Regions from separate parts of the Homo sapiens genome. Here regions 1 and 3 are each linked to region 2. The links are contacts of gene promoters, found by promoter capture Hi-C in blood cells and fetal thymus (Javierre and others, 2016). All regions are on one chromosome and are shown on one strand. Each heading gives the region's core, a stretch centred on a gene start or on the middle of the fragment in contact. The rest is flanking DNA. Distances are from core to core; before and after follow the strand shown. Region 1 overlaps ATP4A (ATPase H+/K+ transporting subunit alpha). Region 2 holds the start of HPN (hepsin). Region 3 has its middle 5.7 kb from the start of HAUS5-DT.

Evidence for each region. The method cuts DNA at HindIII sites, captures the fragments that hold promoters and counts their contacts. A CHiCAGO score of 5 or more calls a contact.
Region 1: a contact is called between a fragment that was not itself captured here and the fragment with the promoter of HPN in region 2, in 2 of 17 cell types (naive B cells and naive CD8 T cells). The highest score is 7.8, in naive B cells.
Region 3: a contact is called between a fragment that was not itself captured here and the fragment with the promoter of HPN in region 2, in 5 of 17 cell types (total B cells, activated CD4 T cells, naive B cells and 2 more). The highest score is 7.8, in total B cells.

Annotation. Positions count from the first base shown.
Region 1 is chr19:35,554,907-35,557,606 of GRCh38, reverse strand. ATP4A (ATPase H+/K+ transporting subunit alpha) reads left to right here. Exons shown (of 22, transcript NM_000704.3): 12 at 519-694; 13 at 1,795-1,931; 14 at 2,017-2,167; 15 at 2,273-2,441; 16 at 2,531-2,685. Among named protein-coding and RNA genes, the nearest start is that of ATP4A, 7.4 kb to the left of the region's middle. The HindIII fragment of the contact is 254 bases long and covers 1,297-1,550 here.
Region 2 is chr19:35,040,471-35,043,170 of GRCh38, reverse strand. HPN (hepsin) reads right to left here and starts at 1,450. Exons shown (of 13, transcript NM_001384133.1): 1 at 1,299-1,450; 2 at 649-718. The coding sequence starts at 664. RefSeq lists an enhancer at 1,979-2,700. The HindIII fragment of the contact is 15,827 bases long and covers 1-2,700 here.
Region 3 is chr19:35,605,574-35,608,273 of GRCh38, reverse strand. No RefSeq gene overlaps it. Among named protein-coding and RNA genes, the nearest start is that of HAUS5-DT, 5.7 kb to the left of the region's middle. The HindIII fragment of the contact is 3,634 bases long and covers 1-2,700 here.

The sequences.
Region 1 (2,700 bases), core at 174-2,673, 510 kb before region 2:
GCACAGACCCTGCCCACCACTCCCGGCCCAGCCCTGACCGTCCTCATCCCTGGCTGCTGGCTGATTTGTCGCAGTCCACAGCCTCACCCTTGACTTTCCCTGTACCAGTCCTGACCCCTGTCTGTCCTCACTTTCTACCTTGACCCCAGTCCTCACCTGGACTTTTATCCGTATCCTGACCTCTAACCTCTCCCAATTTTTGTCCTGACGCCTTAAACTTCGCTGCCTCTACCCTAGAAAGCAGATCTGTGGTCCAATTCTGGGCCTTTTACTTGCTGTGTGACCTCTGGCAAGAAATGTCCCCTCTCTGAGCCTCAGTTTCCTCATCTGTAAGATGAGAATGGGCCTCACAGGGTGGTTGTGAGGGTAGATTCAGATAATGTGAGTGAAGGGGTCAGCACAAGGTCAGGCATCCATAGGTGTTTGGTGCAAGGGGCCTGGTTATTTTACCCATTTCCTGGCCCTGCTAAGAAAGGGTGTGCCCAGGGCTCTTCCCTGACTTCCCCGTTTCCGGTCAGGCTTCTGCCAGCTCTACCTGAATGAGAAGGACTACCCGCCTGGCTATGCCTTCGACGTAGAGGCCATGAACTTTCCATCTAGCGGCCTCTGCTTTGCGGGACTTGTATCCATGATTGACCCACCCCGGGCCACCGTCCCTGATGCTGTGCTCAAGTGTCGCACCGCAGGCATCCGGGTATGCCACTGTGGGGAGGAACAAGTGGAGTGAGGACAGAGGATGGCAGCAGGATTTGGGTTGAAGAACCCCATGACAAACCCACCTGAAACTGGCTTGAACCAAAATGCATTGGTTTATGATACTGAAAAATTCTGGGGAATTAAGCTTCAGGTCTAGCCAGATCCAGGAGCTCAGTGTCATTAGGAATTTTCCTTTCTCCATGTCTCAGCTCTGCTGTTCTCTTTGCTGGCTTTATTTGCAGGCACTCCCTTCACTTGGGGACACACACACCCCTGCTCCAGCAGCTCAAACTTAACTCCCACCTGCTTAGCCACCCCACAAAAAGAGAGTGCCTCTTTTGCAGTAGCACTGGATTGGGTCACTCATTTATCCCTGAGCCAGTCACTGGGGCTGGGGGATGGAAGACCTTGATTGGCCAGGTCTGGGCTTACTTACCCAATCTTAGCCAGGGACCTCACTGCAACTGATGGTGTAGGGGAGAGGAGTGGTTCCCCAAACACAAAACAAGGGTGGGAAAGCCAAGGCCAGGCAGGCAATGCCCAAGCCCTTCCCGTGTCTCTACGGCCCTGTTACATCGGGCCTTGTTACCTTTCTAAGCTTGTTCGTTAGCCCTCTTTCCTTGTTCACTCCTCTGCAGTTATGGTGTCCTCCCTGCTGTTCCTCCGACAGTTCGGGCCTGTCCTCACCTCAGGGCCTTTGCACCTGCTGTTCTCCCTGCCAGGAGCACTCTTCTCCCAGCTTTCCACGTGGCTGACTCTCTCACCTCTTACAGGTCTCTGCTCAGATATCACCTTCTCAATAAGCCCTTCCCTGGGTACACTTAAAATCGAGTCACCGTTTCCTTCACCAAGCTTAATATGTTTTTTTCCACTTTCTAACACACTATATAATTCGTTTCTTTATTTTCTGTCACCCTCACTAGAGCTCCTCAAGGACAGGGATTTTTGTCTCTTTTGTCTCTGCTATATCCCAGGCACGTAGGAGGTGGTCACGCTTGGTCAAGTAAATGAACACGTGTATCAGCAGATGTCTCCCAGGGAGGACAGGGAGATTGGGCTGATCTGAAGGGGTCAGTGATCCACTGGTTCCCCCTACAGGTGATCATGGTAACGGGTGACCACCCCATCACCGCCAAGGCCATTGCAGCCAGTGTGGGCATCATCTCGGAAGGCAGCGAGACAGTGGAGGACATCGCTGCCCGCCTCCGTGTGCCCGTAGACCAGGTTAATCGCAAGTAAGCCCCCCCAGACCTCCCCGGGGTTCTCCCCACATCTGGCACAGACCGAGGTCCCAGCGAGGTCCTCCCATCTCCTCCCCAGGGATGCCCGTGCCTGTGTGATCAATGGCATGCAGCTGAAGGACATGGACCCATCGGAACTGGTCGAGGCCCTGCGCACCCACCCCGAGATGGTGTTTGCGCGCACCAGCCCCCAGCAGAAGCTGGTGATCGTGGAGAGCTGCCAGCGGCTGGTGAGCCCTGCTGATGAGGGTGGGCAGGCGGGCAGACAGGCGGGGCTGGTCTTGGACCGGCCTCTCACTGACCACCCACCCACCACCTGCACCCACTGCCTGCAGGGTGCGATTGTGGCCGTCACGGGGGATGGTGTGAATGACTCCCCAGCTCTGAAGAAGGCAGACATCGGAGTAGCCATGGGCATCGCTGGCTCAGATGCTGCCAAAAATGCAGCTGACATGATCCTGCTGGATGACAACTTTGCCTCCATTGTGACAGGCGTGGAGCAGGGTCCGAGCCACGCCAGGGGGAGGGCAGGCAGTGTGGGCACAGGAGGGAGAGGGCTGTGAGGAGGCTGAGGTGCCCACCCTACCCCACAGGTCGACTGATCTTCGACAACCTGAAGAAGTCTATTGCCTACACATTGACCAAGAACATCCCAGAGCTGACACCCTACCTCATCTACATCACCGTCAGCGTGCCCCTGCCCCTCGGGTGCATCACCATCCTCTTCATCGAACTCTGCACTGACATTGTAAGTCCACAGCCC
Region 2 (2,700 bases), core at 201-2,700:
CTGCTCTTTTGCCCACAGAGCCAGGAGGTGGAGGAATGTCTGGGATCGGTGGGGGTCCTGGGTCTCTGGGACTCCGAGTTTGCCAACCTCTGTCATGACAGCTCTGCTTGATGGCATGCGTCTTATATGCAGAGCCCCAGACCAGTGCCTGGTGTGTGTCATGCACTCAGCAACCTCACAGAGGGAGGACTGGTATCCATGCTTGACCCAGAGGGAGACCAAAGCCCTAAGAATAATGTCACTTGCACCAGATCACACAGCAAAAAAGATGGCAAGAGCAAATTCAAATGCAAGCCTGTGTGTTTCACTCCAAATCTGTGTCCTTAACCATGACAGCTACAGCTTCCCCGCCTCAGCCCCAGCAGAGGACAAGTCCAGAGTTAGCTGAGAAATCACTGGGGGATGAGGGGAAACTGAGGCAGCACGCCAGGAAGGTCACATAGGGTAGAAGGGAGGCTGGTGGTGGCACAGCTGCACAGAAAATGTGGTTAATAGTTAATCAGGTGGAGGAGGACTAACAGGGGTGGGGATGCATCTGGGAGGGGTGCCCAGAGAGAGGGGGCTCCGAAGAGTAGAGGGTAGAGAAAAGAGCACAGAGGGCGGGGCGCCAGGCAGAGCCAAAGCTGGGGCTCAGGGAAGGGGACTCACCCTCCTTCTGCGCCATGTCACTGCCTCTTGTTAATGATTCCCTGGCTGACCTCCTGGGCCAGGGTGGGACCTGTGAGGAGATGGACGGGGAGGCAGGGCCTGGGGGAGCCCAGCCCAGCCCAGTCCTGGCGCCCCCAGTCCCAGGCGTCCATCCAGGCAGGCTGTAGGGACTGGGCCTTGGCCAGAGCACGCCGTGATCACGGACGCAGATTGGGCTGGGTTCAAGGATGGGGTCAGTGTCTGACCAGCAGCGGGGGGACGCCTGGATTTGCAGGGATGGGGACCCCCATGCCTGAGCCTGGTGGAGCAGGGGACTGAGGATCCCGGTTTGAGGGAGGAGACAGCTGAGGACCTGAAATCATAAGTCTTGGGAAAGGAGGAATTTGGGGGCCAGGACTCCCTAGTATGAGGGAGGAGGGGCCTGAGGGCTGGAACTCCTGGGTCTGGGGAGGAAAGGACTGGGGTCCAACGGCTGAGTCTGAAGGAAGAGCAGGACAGAACACCTAGGTGCTTGGGGGGACGTCATAGTGCCCCCTCTTCAGGTCCCCAGGAACCCCTCTATTAGGAGGTGGGCATTAGGCTGGGTGGGGGGATGAGGGAACCCCTGTCCTCAGGGCTGGAACTGTGAGTCTGGGGGCCCTTGTCCTTACCCTGGGGTCCAGCAGGTGGGGGCGGAGCCTCGAGGTAGTGCCGGGGTCGGGTCAGTCTCCAGGCCTGGGCAGGAGCATGGTGGCCCCGCAGCAGCGGGCGGCCTGGAGGCAGAGGCGGTGGCGTGGGGCCTGCTAGGCCAGGCTGCCTCACCTGAGGAGGAGGGGGCTGGGCGAGGGGCGGGTGAAGGGGCGGGGAGGGGCCGGACCATTCGATTGGCAGCACTGGAGGCCACCTGGCTGATGGGGCCGGGCTTGTGGGGGCTGGACCAGGCGGGCCCAGCTACGGGGCTTGCCTTGGACCTCCAGGGGGACCCAGGTGTGCCTGTCTGCGGGGATGTGGGAACAGGGACAGGCCTGGCCGGAGGCTGGGGGTTTAGGGAGAAAGTGCAGGCTGAAGGGTGGGGGTCTGACCAGAAGAGATCAGATGGAGGGCCCCAGCTGCCCTAAGCCCACTCCACCCTCACCCAGCGAACCCTTCCCCCCGCCCTTTCTGCGTCCTCCAGCCCCAGGTCCTGGCTGTGCCCGCCACTTGCTGCACCTCTGCCTAATTCCCTGCCCAATTCCTGGGCCCCAACCCCAGCCCCAGCCTCTCCCGCCTGCCCTGCTCATCCTGCCCCGGCCCCTCCCCCGCTGGCTTCCTACAAGTCACGGGGCTGGTTTGCTTTGGCAGCCTCCGCCCGGCCGCGGTGACCTCTGGAGCCAGAAAGTCCTAGCACTAGATAGGGGGGATGGGGGGCTTGGCCGGGAAAACACAGCGCTAAGGGCAGAGGCCCAGGCCAAGTGGCCGGAAGCGTCCGCAGGCAGATAACACACTGTCCCGCCAGCAGCCAGGCGCGGCCCACGTCAGACCCAGGGCCAGGTAAACACCAGACGTGCAGGGTCACCGCCAGACACCTGCCCGTGCTCAACCACACGCCGGACACAGTCGGCCTCGGCTGCTTGCCCCAGATAGGCCACCCGCACAACCGGCCCCACCCGCTTACCCACACGTGCCCGCTGTGCCCAGCCAAACCCACCTCCACCGCACCCATTTCCTCCACTCAGCCCAGGGCCCCTCATTGGGACACGCTGGTTTAGCCTGGCTTCCTCTGCCTTTCCATCCATACCCGTCTCTCCTTCCCTCTCCTTCTCCCCAGCGCCCACCTCTCCAGAGACTCACACTGCTGGGCACACCACACACCCCATGCCACCCCTGCACCCCAGCATCAGCCTCGATTCTCTTCCCTCCACGGCACCCCCTCCCTTCCTGGCTCCGTTCCACTCTCCCTCACCCCTGAGCCCATGGCTCCCCCAACCCCGACACAGATCAGGCACTAAGTGGCTTCACCTGTGGGCCCTCAGGTAGGGTCCCTGGAAAGCGGGCTCGAAGATTCGGGGACGGGAATGGGGGGAAGGTGACGGG
Region 3 (2,700 bases), core at 84-2,583, 570 kb before region 2:
ATGCTGGAATGTGCTCAAAGGAACAGTAAGAAATGAGCTTCTGGCTGGGCGTGATGGCTCATGCCTGTAATCCCAGCACTTTGGGAGGCTGAGGCAGGTGGATCACCTGAGGTTAGGAGTTTGAGACTAGCCTGACCAACATGGAGAAACCCCGTCTCTACTAAAAATACAAAAAAATCAGCCGGGTGTGGTGGTGCATGCCTGTAATCTCAGCTACTTGGGAGGCTGGGGCAGGAGAATCGCTTGAACCCAGGGGGCAGAGGTTGTTGTGAGCTGAGATCGTGCCATTGCACTCCAGCCTGGGCAACAAAAGTGAAACTCCGTCTCAAAAAAAAAAAAAAAAAGAACTTTTATTTTGTGAGCTACTGAAATGGTGGGGTTTATTTGTTATAGCAGCTAGCATGACTCTAAATAATATACCTTGTAGACATCATTGCCCACTAGCTCAGTGTATCTCAAACTACTTGTAACTATGGAGAAGGATCATTTGTTTGATGTTTCCAACCTGTCATGGACCAATCCTTTTGGTCTCTACCCTGTTCAACAAGAAAATCCATTGATCCTATACTTGGATGTCATGGATATGTCAAATTGCTGTGTTTCTAAACACTTGCTGGCAATTTCCGTACTTATCTGGTGGCACACCATTGCAGACACCAGCTCGGTTGGGGAGACCCTAACCCACTGGTGCTAGAGGAATTAAACACACACACACAGAAATATAGAGGTGTGAAGTGGGAAATCAGGGGTCTCACAGCCTTCAGAGCTGAGAGCCCCGAACAGAGATTTACCCACATATTTAGTAACAGCAAACCAGTCATTAGCATTGTTTCTATAGATATTAAATTAAAAGTATCCCTTATGGGAAACGAAGGGATGGGCCGAATTAAAGGAATAGGTTGGGCTAGTTAACTGCAGCAGGAACACGTCCTTAAGACACACATCGCTCATGCTATTGTTTGTGGCTTAAGAATGCCTTTAAGTGGTTTTCCACTCTGGGCGGGCCAGGTGTTCCTTGCCCTCATTCCCGTAAACCCACAACCTTCCAGCTTGGGCGTTAGGGCCATTATGAACATGTCACAGTGCTGTGGAGATTTTGTTTGTGGCCAGTCTTGGGGTCAGTTTATGGCCATATTTTGGGGGGCTTGCTCCCAACACCATAATAGTTGCTGGACCAGTCCTGGCACCACTTTAGCTTCTTATTCTGTTTTATTTTTCTCTATAGCATTTACCATTCCCTGTAATTATCTTGTTTATTTTTGGGTATACTTGTTTATAGTTTTCTTTCCCACTAGAATGTAAGCTCCATCAGAGAAGAAGTTGGCCTTACTTCTCTTGCTCCGTTGTGTTCCTCGTTCCCAAGACAATGCCTGGGACACAGTAGGTGCTCAGAAAGTATTTGTTAAATAATGAGTATTTGTTAAATAAAAATCATGGCTGGGAACAGTGGCTCACGCCTATAATCCCAGCACTTTGGGAGGCCAAGGCAGACAGATTGGTTGAGCTCAGGAGTTTGAGACCAGTCTGGGCAGCATGGCAAAACCCTGTCTCTACAAAAAATATAAAAATTTGCTGGGCATGGTGGCATGCACCTGTAGTCCTAGCTACTCAGGAGGCTGAGGCATGAGAATCACTTGAACCTGGGAGCCAGAAGTTGCAGTGAGCTGAGATTGTGCCACTGCATTCCAGTCTGGGTGACATAGTGTGACCCTGTCTCAAAAAAAAATTTAATAAAATGAAATAAAAATAACAAGGAGGGTGGGGGGAAGGAGGCAATCCATATCTGTTACAGAGGCTCTCTACAATCAGAACCTGACCAGAACTCTAACCAGTTTGTTAACAGCCATTGAGATCCCCTCAAGAGCTGTGGTTTTTTGATAGACCATGGTAGCTCAGATTAGATGTCAACTGAAGAATCATGAGGTTTTGATATGGTTTGGCTGTCCCCACCCAAATCTCATCTTGAATTGTAGTTCCCCAAATCCCCATGTGTTGTGGGAGGGACCTAGTGGGAGGTAATCGAATCATGGGGGTGGTTACCCCCATGCTGCTGTTCTTGAGATAGTGAGTTCTCACGAGATCTGATGGTTTTATAAGGGGCTTTTCCCTCTTTGCTTGGCACTTCTCCTTCCTGCTGCCATCTGAGGAAGGACGTTTTTGCTTTCTTTTCCACCATGATTTTAAGTTCCCTGAGGCCTCCCCAACCCTGCGGAACTGTGAGTCAATTAAACCTCTTTCCTTTATAAATTACCCAGTCTTGGGCAGTTCTTTTCAGCAGCGTGAGAACAGACTAATACAGGTTTACAAATTTGGAAAGGAGAGCTTTATTTCTCATAAAGAGTTGCAGCCTGCAGCCGGGCCATCTCACAGGCCGAGAAGTGTAGCCTCCGGTAGAAGCTGAGAGCAGGCACCTCCAGTAAGGGAAGGATAAGGTCAGAGTTAACGCTGAATGGCTTGGCTCAGTATACATATTCAACAGGTTATAGGAGGAGCTATGAATATTCATGAAGGGAAGGTACAGCACATGTGTAGTAACATCCCATATTCACTTTTTTTTTTTTTTTTTTTTTTTTTTGAGATGGAGTCTTACTCTGTCACCCAGGCTGTAGTGTAGTGGTGCGATCTCAGCTCACTGCAACCTCTCTTTCCCAGGGTTCAAGCAATTCTCCTGCCTCAGCCTCATGAGTAGCTGGGATTACA